2 separate regions of the Homo sapiens genome follow, and region 2 is linked to region 1. The links are contacts of gene promoters, found by promoter capture Hi-C in human tissues and cell types (Jung and others, 2019). All regions are on one chromosome and are shown on one strand. The core of a region is centred on a gene start or on the middle of the fragment in contact, and the rest is flanking DNA. Distances in the headings are between cores, read along the strand shown.

What was found. The method cuts DNA at HindIII sites, captures the fragments that hold promoters and counts their contacts. A contact is called where the count stands out against the background at its distance.
Region 2: a contact is called between a fragment that was not itself captured here and the fragment with the promoter of SEMA3D in region 1, in 5 of the 25 tissues and cell types used here (IMR-90 fibroblasts, aorta, bladder and 2 more).

What each region holds. Positions count from the first base shown.
Region 1 is chr7:85,182,754-85,188,983 of GRCh38, forward strand. It overlaps SEMA3D (semaphorin 3D), which reads right to left and starts at 4,303. Exons shown (of 19, transcript NM_001384900.1): 1 at 3,925-4,303. RefSeq lists a silencer at 4,115-4,174. The HindIII fragment of the contact is 9,968 bases long and covers 1-6,230 here.
Region 2 is chr7:85,806,352-85,813,358 of GRCh38, forward strand. No RefSeq gene overlaps it. Among named protein-coding and RNA genes, the nearest start is that of LINC00972, 390 kb to the left of the region's middle. The HindIII fragment of the contact is 4,236 bases long and covers 3,385-7,007 here.

The DNA of each region.
Region 1 (6,230 bases), core at 3,053-5,552:
ATTGTTATTATGACTTATTCCACAAATGTGAATATTTGTTTCTCCTTTCAAGGATTATGTTATGGAGTGTTGAAATGCTACTTTACTTAAGTACTCTGTACCACTCCAGATGTTTAGAGGAAGAATAATAATAACTTTTCAAAACAAGCCTATGGCTACTCTTGTTCATGAAGAAAATTATTTATTAATTGACAAGGATGATTCTGAAGGAACATGTGTCAGCAATGTATTGAACCGCCCAGACAGAACAGCAAAGTTCAGAGTCAACATTTGCTTTTCCAAAATAATGAAGTTATAACAAACAACCCGAAGACATAATATTCATTAAACTAGCACCAGTCAGAATGTCTTCCCCTTGAGATTGAGAATTTGATATTACACAGGCATAATAAAAATAGTAATGAGTTAGCCCAGTAGCTTTGTTAACACAGTAAACAGACACTGAGACACAGAGATGCTTGCCAACCCCCGAAGTTATCTTCAGAGACACCTCTGGTTTATGATAACCCTTTTGATAGTTAACAAATATCCATGCAATGGATTGAGAGCACAGTATGAAGAATAACTGGAGACTATGAAACTTCTTGAATTAATTTAACTTCAACCCCAAGCAATATCCTTTTTAGTTTTGGAAAAGAAAAATATGTGAGAGTAAATCAGCTTGGTGACTCAAGTTCAAACCTGAAGTCCGGTCTGTTAGCCTGTCGGAAACAGTAGAAGATATGCTTCCTCTGCCTTTCTAGTTGTTCATATTCCTGACCTTCCCTGCCACCAAAAATAATTCCCATTCCCACGCTTACTAGTCTTCCCCACACATAAAAGAGAGATTACAAATTCAGTTTTTCTTTGTGTATTTTTCCTCTGCAAAATATAAAGCAAATCATTAGTAAAGACTTACCTATGAAGGCAATTCTGGTGAAAGGCAAAAGAAAGCCACAGCAATTACTTTTCTATCTTTTATCGTTAGTTTCTGCTAGTGTTGATGATAGTTTCCCGATAATTCCAAAACATTTTACATTGCCAGATACTTTTTCTTAACCTCCCATCTCAGAACATCAACAGGAAAGTAACCAGAGTGAACTACAAAAGTGAACCAATGGTACTGAAATACGAAGTAAATTTTTAGGTATTCAGGTCATGAGGACAATAAGTAGACTGAGGAAAACCTAACTAATCTCAGGAAATGTTCTTAATACAACCATGGGATTTCTGTTTGATAAATTCTTTTTCTTTTTTTTTTCCTTTACGGACATTGTTAAAGAAACTAATAATTCCTACAAAGGAAAATGAAACCTGTAGGTATGAATAGATCATTAATATCACATACATACGATTCTGGGCTTATCGATTTGATGTGGTTCATTCTCATTCTCAACCATGAATTGCATTTAAAATTTTGAGTGTTCTCCACATGTAAATGATAACAGATACAGATACAGCATCATAACTGACCTTAGAAAGCCCTCCCATTAAGTGGGGTCATGACAACTTTCTTGAAGTTTCTGAAAGGAGACCCACACCCAGGTAAAACAGTTCGTATCTCAGTTCGTGCCCTTACTAGCTTATATTTGGGCACATCAAGCAACATTTTTGCATCTCATTTATTATCATCTCTAAAATAATAACTACCTAGCTTATTCCCCCAGCAATACAATTTTTTTTTAAGAATTACGGTTCTTCATTAAGAACATAAAAGCCAAAATGGGACAATACCCATTTATAAATCTTTATGTCTTTGTTTTTTTTTTCTTTTCTGTTCAAAAAGAAAAGAATAAGAGAATAATGACACTTGTATCATATTGTTGAGGATATTAATTGTGATAAAGTTCACAGCACCTGAAACACAATAGGTGTTTGATAAATGTTTCTTCCCTTCTCTAGGAACTTTCCATTTCACAATTGGGCAAATTCCATTGGAAATTTTGGCAATTCGAATCAGTACTGTTTTACTGTCTGTCAGCCCTTGACCCTACTCTTATCTCGTCCCACATCACCTTCCTGTATTTCCTGGCCTTTCCCTTCCAAGAGCCAAGGTCATTGCCCATCTCCCTGACCAGGGCCATCACTTTGCGCCTGTCAGCGATGGCACCCCTGACCCGTCTTATCCGCTGGGGCGAGTCTCAGAGACTCTAAGACCCGACTGGGTTAAAGCAGTGGCCAGCTGGGGCTGATCACTCCCAACCCCGATCTTCTTGCTCATCCTCCTTGCTGTCTGGCCTCGGAGAAGGAAAAGGAGAAGGGAGGGCATCATTGGAGTGATGACATGTGTGTCTTCTTGCTCATCCTCCTTGCTATCTGGCCTCAGAGAAGAAGGAAAAGGAGAAGGAAAAGGAGAAGGAAAAGGAGAACAAAAAGGAGAAGGCAAGGCATCACTGGAGTGATGACATGTGGCTCTCTCCCTTCTCTGCCCTTCACATTTTTCTTTCCACGTGCAGAACTGGGAAGGCTCTGACCACCCCTGCCCCCGCGGTTGCCATGGTTACACAATAGCAGCAGCACCAGACCCAGGAGATGTCTCAGACCTCTCCTCTACCTCCGCCTCAACCCTTCCCTCTCTGTTAGGAGATCCTCCCCCTCGTCTCTGCGCGCCCCCACCCCGCCATCCCCCGCTAGCGCACACATGCAGGAGAACCCTTTTTAGGCTAAACCGGAAAGTTTAGGTCTTCTCCCCTCTTCTTTTGCTTGTGCAAATAGCACTAAGCTAAACGGAAAGTGGTGGGGTTTTGGTGATGAAATAAGAGTCCACGCACAGAAGCTTGCCTTTTATTACCGCTTCGCTCGAGGCGAAATCGCTGAAAGTTCGGCTATTTAACTCCTGTCCCCATAACTCGGAATCCCGGACACCAGCGGCCCCAGCTGCTGGCGCGCGGCTCTCTTCCAGTCCCCTGGATCCCAAAGCTCCCTGCCACAGCGCGGCGTCTCCTCCTCCTGTCAACTTCCCTCCTTGCACTGTGACGGAGGCAAAGCAACTCAGCCCAGGAGGTTGAACTCGAGTCATCAGAGAAGGAGAAACAGTGCCGAAAACGGCCCGTGCGCTACCAGGGTAGCCCATTAACGCATTAACTCCAGGCTCGTTGGGCAGAAGCCGGGAGGAAACACCCTGGGGACCGCACTCCTGGTTAAATGCCCAGCACGAGTCAAATCCGGCCTTTCCAAAGCGAGCCAAGCCCACTACTACAAAGAGATCCCCCGAGTGTTTTGCCTTAACCACATTTCAGACAGCCAGCTTTGTGGCTGCTGTTTGACTCCAACTTTCCCTCTAAATCTAAAAGGATGCACACTTCCATCAGACGGAACGTCGCGATTCCCCGGCGAAGAAAAAGGCGTCGCCCATTCCTCTTCCAAAACGCTACAACAAAAACCACCACGCTTCCCTTCCTTCTTCCTTGCCCCTTTCCCTTCTCCCAGACCAACAAGGAAAGGAGCGAGCGAGGGCGCAGATGCCCTTTGGTCAAGTACTCCCCGGATGTTCCCGACTAAAGCGTCTCCAAATGAACCTGCAGCCTGCGGAAGCCGGGGACACATTCATAGACGCTCTCTGCTGCCCAGACCAGGAGGGGTGGTGGGGGAACCAGGAAGCCAGGGAGAGAGCAAAGTTCCTGGACGCGTCTCAGGAGGAAAACTTTGTGCAGTGCTGCCAGGCGGAGGCTCGTCAGAAGGCTCCGCAGCTGCTGAGGCGGGGTGGGACTGCGCCCCAGGGGCCGCGCTGAAGCTGGCGCCGCGATTACTGCGCACCGATTTCGCCCACTCTCTGTCCGCTCCCGGGAGCCTTCTCTGTCTCAGGACGGTTCCTTATCTCCCAAACCATGCTCGTCCTCCACTTCGGACCCACAGCCACCCCCAAATCCCGGCTATCCCCGCTTAGCACCGCGGTCTCCAGCACACCCTCCCACTGGAGTAGCAGGTGACCCAAACCAGACTTACCTGCTGTGAACTCTTCTCTCCCTCTCTCTTTTCCTGGTGCCTTTTCAGGGAGAGGGGAACGGGATGCAGGCTGAGGTCCAGCGGCGCGGCAACCCGGGGCACCGGCGCGCGTTCCTCTGAGCCGCAGCCCTGGCTGAGCAAGCGGAGCCGCCGGCAGCCCTGGCAGAGCCGGGAAGCTGCGGCCGCAGGGGCCAGGCCGGGAGGCAGGGGGCGCTGCTGCCTCCCCCGAGAGCCGCGCTAGGACAGGCGGAGAGCAAGGCACCAGCTGGAGCTTTGGGGAGGAGAGGGTGGCGAGGAAAGGCACGCTCCAAACAGGAGGGCGGCTTTTAAGTTTGTGGTGTGACCGCAGCAGCTGTCCTGGGAGAGACTCAGTCTTTCTAAAAAGAGGATGCTGAAAACGCCGGGGATTACCTTTCCCCTTCCGATCTCCTCCCCCAGCCCTCGCCCCCTCCTTCCACTGCGCACGCCAGAACTCCCAAGCGTGCAGAAGTTCATCCCTGCTGCGCGGAGGCTGCCAGCAGCGTGGATTTAGAGGTAGCCCTGGCCAAGCGCTGACGGATGTTTATCAGGACAGGGCACCCTATGTGTAAAGCAACCTCTAACGTCTGATCTTCCTTCTGGGTGACTTGGGGACTTCTTTAGTTCCTTCTCTATACCATAAAACCTGTTAAGGGACCCCATGAGGAAGAAACAGGGAGAGTGACCACAAACACCGTCCTAAAAATGCTAATCCCACAAAACAGTACCTGCGTTCCACTATGTAAAACCTCAATCCACGGTTAATGGCCTTGACAAGGCAGGCATAGGGATGAGGAACAGGGATCAACCCTCCGTTAAGGGGCTGGCACCCGATTAAGACCAAACAGGGAGAGATAAAAACGAGTAGAATGTAATCCTTTCTTCCTCTTTCCCTTACGCCAGACCTACAAAGAGGTGTGCCTCATATCCTTGTCTTCGGGAGTTTTTTAGATTTTTGCACCCCTTATTCACACAGTAGGAACTTAGAAGTATATAATGACGAGAAGATCTAAGTTTTGATGAACCTGGATCCTATGCAATTGGAATAGAGGATCCTCTTTAAGCAAAAGTAATGCAGAAATATCTCACTTCTACAGATTCTGCAAAAATATATGACAATGAGAGTTCATGAGGCCACCGTCAGGGACATTAAAAAGGCCTGTGCATTTGGTGAGCCCTGTACGTTAGGCATTTTTAGCTGCATGGTAAATCCTTTGTGATGGGATATCCAGGTTTATAGTCACACACCTTGCCCTTAGTCCCAAACATAAATCTGACATGAGGTAGAGACATGGAAAGCAAGCAGCCACGGGATCCTGCATTTGTCAGCTTGATTTAAGAGCACAAGGTGTAGGGTCCCAAAGCTTCCTTAGCAAGTAACAAGAGATATCTTGATTTGGAGATGGTGAACAGACAAATGCAGTAATGGAATAACTGAAAGGGGTGGAAGACATTCTTCATTTGACCTTTTATCTGTGGCAGAGGGCTGAGGGCCACAGAAGCTAAAGGAGTCATTTTAAGTTATAAATGGTTGATGGCAGAGTCAGGCTAAGGAAAGGCTCAGGTTTCTCAAATCTGACCAAGGCTCTTTCTTGTGTCTCATGCTGCCCCATCTCTATAACCTTGGTTTGGACTCACAACCAATCAACCCCATAAATACCCTCTTTGGATAGAGAAAAAAATTTTAAATCCTCGTAGACTATTTCAAACTATAGCAACTTTTATTTTTTTTCTGAATGCTTTATATTTAATGTTATACCACTCATTCTGTACATAGTCATGCAATTGTTTATTGTATGTTTCTATGTGTTTATATTATTTTCATTTGTATATGTCATTGCACTTCCATGCAAATTGCAATGTCATTGTGCAAATAAAATATCTCTTTTTTTCTCCCGTATATGGTGGGTTTATAGTAAGTAGTTTTTGATTTTTAGAAAATCTCTATTTTTAAACTTTTAAATAATTTTGTCAGTTTATTGGCCAGAATTTTGTGTTTAACTAGAATTGTGGTTAACTTTGGATTTCCCATTTTCCTCCTTTCTCTTTTAAGTTGTAGCTTAATATGCTTAAACCAAATGACACCTTCCTTTGCTACCATTCAATACTTTCCATAAAGCCCTTACAGAATTAATCACTCCCTCCTGTTTTCCCAAAGCACTTTGATTTCACTACTATAATAAGCTCTTTTCACTTTATATTATAATTAGTTATGCATGTGTCTGCATCCCATACAAAAGTGTTGGCTGTTTTGTGTCTTTGTTTCTTCAGCCTCTAATACAATGCCT
Region 2 (7,007 bases), core at 4,253-6,752, 620 kb after region 1:
TGTAAAAATGTAGAATCTGATACAGCAGGACTAGGGTAAGGCCTAACAGTCTCCATTTCTAATAAGTTCCCAGGAGGCCTAACATTCCTGGCCTCTTTGCAGTGAGGGAAGTCTCTGTCCAAGGGAACAGTCTGTCACAGGATAGTTACAGTGCAAGGCACCAAGACCTTTACTGCCTACTAGTGGCAAATGGGAGTTTGGAAGTGGCTGAGAGTGGTGAAAGTGGTGTCACTACTGCCAGTGCTGCTCATCCCAAGGTCCCATTTTGAGTAAAAAAACCTTAGACTACTGGTTTTCATCATATGATTCTGGATAACCAACATCAGCCTCTCCTGGAAATTTATTTTTTTTTCTCTTTTTTTTTTCTCTGAGTCTGGGTCTAACTGTTGCCCAGGATGGAGAGTAGTGGTGCAATCATGACTCAGGTGATCCTCCCGATCCTCCCACCTCAGCCTCCCATGTTGCTGGGACTACAGGTGTGCACCAAAATGCCCAGCTAATTTTTGTATTTTTTGTAGAGATGGGGTTTTGCCATGTTGCTCAGGCTGGTCTTGAACTCCTGGGCTCAAGCTATCCACCCACCTCAGCTTCCCAAAGTGCTAGGATTACAGACATGACCCACCATTCCAAGCTCTGAGAACTTCTTAGAGCAGCATAACCTGAGCCCTCTTCCCAATATCAAAAACTCTCAATCTGATGCCCGCTAAAATTTGAAGAATCACTGCTTTATAACACTTGCTGTCTCTCCATCCCTTTTGCTAATGCGTACACCAAATCCCTTTTAGACTCACCAGAGGAACTTCTTACTGGTCTTTCTCTTTCCCTCTTTTTTGTTAACAGTTAGAATTTTATTAAAGATAATAAAATACGTAATATTATAAAGTTCCTTAAAAGCTAGTGAGAGACTTAGACCTTCCACAAGACCAGAAGCCACACACACTGGTTATCCCCACCAAGGATTAGTCAAGCAAAGTTTTCCATTCCCAGCCACTCTCAGTCTCCCATCTGCCACTCAGTAGGCAGTGAAGATCTTGGTGCCCTGAACCCATGACTAGCCCATGACAGAATGTTTCCTTGGACAGAGCCCTCACTCACTCCAAAAAGTCCAGGAATGTTAGGCCTCCTGGACATTCCAAGTCCTAGGCCAGCTTTGGACTGGGACCAGGCCTACAATAAAAGGACAAGAGCAGCAGAATAACTTGTAAAGGTTCAAAGTGGGTCTCCATTTAATACCAGGAACAGTTTTACCCCACCTCAATGGCTGAAGTGCACCCATTCCAGCTCCTCTTTCCCCACCTACAAACTATCCTTCACATTGATACCACAGTGATTTTTAAATTGAAAATTAGGATATTTATTCCTCCTTAAATCTCTCCTTGCAAAATAAAGTCTAAAGTTTGTAACCTAGTACCTATAGACTAATTAAAATAAATATCAATGATTTGCAAAAAATAAGTGATGATTCAAGGTAAAATTTCCAGTTAGAGTATTATATATGGATGCAAAAAAATTGCTCGATGTGAGTACTCATATTGATATGATTTGGCTGTGTTCCCACCCAAATCTCATCTTGAATTGTAGCTCACAGAATTCCCATGTGTCATGAAAGGGACTCAGTGGAAGGTAGTTGAATCAGGGGGATGGGTCTTTCCCATGTGTCATGAAAGGGACTCAGTGGAAGTTAATTGAATCAGGGAGATGGGTCTTTCCCATGCTGTTCTCATGATAGTGACTAAGTCTCCCGAGATCTGATGGTTTTATAAAGTGAAGTTCCCCTACACAAGCTCTCTCTTGCCTGCCACCATACAAGATTTGACTTTGCTCCTCATTTGCCTTCTGCTATGATTGTGAGGCCTCCCAGCCATATAGAACTGTCAGTTAATTAAACCCCTTTCCTTTATAAATTACCCAGGCTCAGGTATGTCTTAATTAGCAGCATGAGAACATACCAATACAGTAAATTGGTACTGGTAGAGTGGGGTGCTGCTGTAAAGATACCCAAAAATGTGGAAGCAACTTTGGAACTGGGTAACAGGCAGAAGTTGGAACAGTTTGGAGGGCTCAGAATATGACAGGAAAATGTGGGAAAGTTTGGAACTTCCTAGAGATTTATTGAATGGCTTTGACCAAAATGCTGATAGTGATATGGACAATAAGGTCCAGGCTGAGGTGGTCTCAGATGGTGATGAGGAACTTGTTGGGAAATGAAGTAAAGGTCACTCTTGCTATGCAAAGAGATTGGCTGTATTTTGCCCCTGCCCTAGATGTCTGTCGACTTTGAAGTTGAGAGAGATGATTTAGGGTATCTGGGGGAAAATTTTTCTAAGTGGCGAAGCATTCAAGAAGAAGCAGAGCATAAAAATTTGGGAAATTTGCAGCCTAATGATGCATTAGAAAATAAAAATCCATATTCTGAGCAGAAATTCCAGCCAGCTGCAGAAATTTGCATAAGTAACAAGGAGCCAAATGTTAATCGCCAAGACAATGGGGGAAATGTCTCCAGGGCATGTCAGAGACCCTCACAGCAGCTCCTCCCATCACAGGTCCAGAGGTCTAGGATAAAAAAATGGCTTCCTGGGCTAGGGCCAGGGCCCCCCTGCTCTGTGCAGCTTAGGGACTTGGTTCCCTGTGTCCCAGCTGCTCCAGCTGTGACTAAAAGGGGCCAAGGTACAGCTCAGGCTGTGGCCTCAAAGTGTGCATGCCCCATCCTTGGCAGCTTTCACATGGTGTTGAACCTCCAGGTGCACAGAAGTCAAGAATTAAGGTTTGGGAACCTCTGACTAAATTTCACAAGATGTATGGAAACACCTGGATGTCCAGGCAAAAGTTTGATGCAGGTGCAGGGTCCTCATGGAGAACTTTTGCTAGGGCAGTGCAGAAGGGGAACATGGGGTGGGAGCCCTCACACAAAGTCCCGAGTCAGGCACTGCCTAGTGAAGCTTTGAGAAGAAGGCCACTTTCCTCCAGACCCCAGGATGATAGATCCACCACAGCTTGCACCAGAGACTTGACTTTGCTCTTCATTTGCCTTCTTCCATGGTGGTGACACCTCCCCAGCCATGTAGAACTGTGAGTCAATTAAACATTCCTTTATAAATTACCCAGTCTCTGGTATGTCTTTATTAGCAGAGTGACTGCTAATAACACACATACACACATACAGAAAAAAAATGATGCTGCTTCATGGATATCAGTGTTCTTGACCCCCTTTTCTCAAACTGTAAAAGAAACATGGGAAAACATAGAAGTGTAAATCTGAGAGATGCTAGAGTAGGTTTTGTCCATATTTGGAAAAATGTAGAATAATACTTGATACTTTTGCTTTTCAACTTATACTTAACTTGTAGGTGGATTGGCTGAATAACTTCTCTCAGCCTCTATATTAATTTTTAAAAGAAATTCTAGAATAGAGATTGGAAAATTTGGGTCAAACTATGTAGTTTAGAAAGTTACAATTATCTGTAATTGCTTTATTTCCATGCCCAACTTTTTTTTTAATATGAAAGATATTAAATATAGCTGGTGTTCTTTTTCCACTTGTAGTGCCACTATTTGGCATTTTGGTGTAAGAAATAGAGTTCAAAATGTTTTTCACACCTTCTAATTTTGTTTCCCAAGATCTGTTTTTAGGTTAGGTAGACGGACTCCCTTATGAAGTTCCTTCCAGAAGTTTTCATTGTGATATTTTATTTTTGAAAACTGAGCCTCTAGGTGTGGTAATAATCAGTGTTGTTTAAAGAGGTACTTTAAGAACTTACCTAAAGAATAACACACAATTCTTTGAATTTAGAACTTGTTATGTTAAAAATGCTTTCTTTTTATTTGAAAGCTTTTACTTTGCTTCTTTTTTTCCCTTTGCTTTTATTTAGTTTGAAGGATGTTGCTAAGTAATGAAAGATTCAATATTAAATTAATTAAAAAGTGGTTCAAAAATTAAAAAATGAAGAAAATGGTTTCAAAAAAAACAGACTTTGTAGCCTTATAAAAGTTTGAATCAAGGTTTATATAAAGTTTTGCTAAAAGTTATTGACATTAGTGGTGGTGGCCATTAGGTTAAATTACCTTGAAAATAGTCTAAGAAACATATTATACTGGGAGATGAAAAGAAATGTACTATTTAGCCATATTATTTCTTTCTATAACTGTAAGCAATTGACTTAAGAAGGCAGAAGCTTTCTTAAGTCCTGTGAGTCCACGTACATTCAAATCGCAATTATCAACACACAACAGAGTTTCAGACAACCTATTCTGTTTCGAGTGTATGACTTTGTACAAATCATTTATCATTTCTGGGGTTCAGTATTCTGTATTACATTATGGAGAAGATTACCATTGAAGATTCTTCCAGCTCTGAAATATTCTGATTAGGTATGTAGTTAAGAAATTCATACCAAGGGTTGGCTCCAGGACTTATTCTTCACCTGCCAAATTTTTTTTTTAGTTCCTGATACACAGGAGCTCAATGTATCTAGATATCCCTTAAAACAAATTTTTGAATAATAAAATTTAATTAAAAATTTTGCATTGCATTCCATTGGCAACATTTCATACTGATTTCACTCAGTCCTATCAATAAGATAATTTCCTTATATTTTTCACATGACTGTTGTTTTAATAGTTGGAGAAATAGCTATCTCTATATTAAAACATTTCTCAAAGAGTCCACATAGATACCTATAAATTTTAATTACAAATTTAAGAAGAAGAGGTAAATATATAAAAGCAACATCTATCATTTTCTGCTAGATTGTTCTACTTTTTCTGATTTGTTTTAAATTTTTACACAAAGATTGAATCACTTTTATATGTAACTTTATAGCTAATGTGATTAGAAAACATATTGATGCATTATATAAATATTATATGGCCATATGGATTTTTGAAGTGATGTCTGACATACCAAATGTGAATCCATTTTATACATTCTTTTATATATAGTCAAGTGATAGCTATACAATAGGCTTAATAAAACAGCAAACAGCTCATTTGTCCTCCCTCTTTCGTCTAATTGCCCAACTTTCACAAATGAGGAAAATCTAATACCAAATATATCATTGTAAGTAGAAAAGTGTTTTGTTTCACTTTGTTGTTCCTTATTTTTAAAATGTATTCCAAGATTGAAAGAACTAGAACGTCACGGAGAGTACCAGAAATTTTTGTGCCCACAGACCTTGTAGAAGCTATGTTGGGGGTAGAGTTTGGAGTATGAATAAGCTGGAAGTAGGGAACCACAATAAATAATGAGATTTTGGTCATTTATTTTTTAAATAAGACAATACTGTATGGCTTTTTGAGTCCTGGAATTTTATGACATTCAGAAGATGGATGAGAAGAGCATTCCCATTAAGACCATTAAGGCAAGATTGTGAAGGTAATTTTAAGAGGATCAAGAGCCTGTAATACTAGAATCGGATCATTTGACACTGTGTCATTAACCTGATACTGCAGCTAATGTTCTCCAGTTTCCTTCTCTCTAAATATGAGGATAATAAAAGTATTTATTTTCTACTTAATAGACGTATAAGTTTAACACAAATAGTACACTTAAAGCACTTATTTAAAGTATCAAGTAGTTTGTAGTTATAAAATATTGTTTATTGATAAATATAATTTGCATAGATTGGATTTTAATAAGTGGTATCTATAGTACTAAGTTCCTTAAATCTATTATTTAATCTAAAACTAACAATAACTCTATAGAACAATAGTTAATACCCTTTAGAGCTGAATTTTACTCATGAGAAAACAGTCTTGTCCATGCCCTACAGATTATTGAGAAATAGAGCCAGAATTTAAAGCTAGGATTGAAGACACCCTAATCTGCATTTGAGCACCAAGTAAGTCCTAAGAGCCACTTTAAAATGTATTTTGTATATTATAAATATTTAAGTATTATGCTCAAAATTTCATATGTGGTAATCAGAATTCAAACTAAATCTATGGCTCTTTATGTTTCTGCTTCAAGATAATCAACCCCTGTTACAATATTTCTTCTATAATGTGTATTGAGGCTGAAACAAATCCATGTAATTTTTATTTTACACAAGATATAGAGTATCTCAAACAAGTGTAAATTCTCAAAAAGCATTTTGAGATTTAATGTTAAGAGTTTTCATCAATGACTATAGACATTTTGAAAGAAAGTAGCCCAGCCTGTCTATGGAAGAAAAAGAGAAATAAGCCTATAATTTCTTTTAATCTTACTGTGATCTGAGGTAATCATTAACAAATGTTACGTAACTTACTCCCAAGAGAAATTATAAATAAAAGACAGAAAAATCTCCCAACCATGACTCTTTGTGGGATATTATATTAATCAGTGGTTGGTAGAATGTGCCAAATTATCTTATTTAAAACACACACACACACACACACACACACACACACACAAAGCATTTTCTCACTCATCAAGGAAATTATCACCGTCAACAATTCCATTTGGCTTTACAAATAAGTGTTGCTCCTAAAGTTGCCATTAAATATAGGACCAGTTGATAGATTAAAATAAAGTAAGCTTTTCCTCCAACTCATCCATCTCTATTAGCAACGGCAACCTTTTAATGAAGACATTCACACCGTTACTACAATATAACACATGCTGAATTCCTCTAGTGCCTTCCAAATAGCACACCTGTGTATGATATACAAAAGCCAATAATAGAAAATTGATCTAGGAAGAAACAGTTTTATTTGTTCTGAGGCATGAAACACAGTTTATCATGAGTAAATTCACGAAAGATTTTATATGATTTTTTTTTCTGAAATAAAATATGGGGAAAACATAAGCAACAAATATACTAAAGATATAATGGCATTGCATGTGACATGTAGGCAACAGAAACAAAGTTAATAAATAACATAAACAAGTAGCTTTCAAGATTTGACTTGGGTGATAGGAATTGTTCATTATCTAATGTCAGATATTGCCTAGAGGAAGTGTATTATTTTCATTCATATTTGGATCATCACACATTTACATAAAAAACTGTAGTTGACTGCTAGTTTCA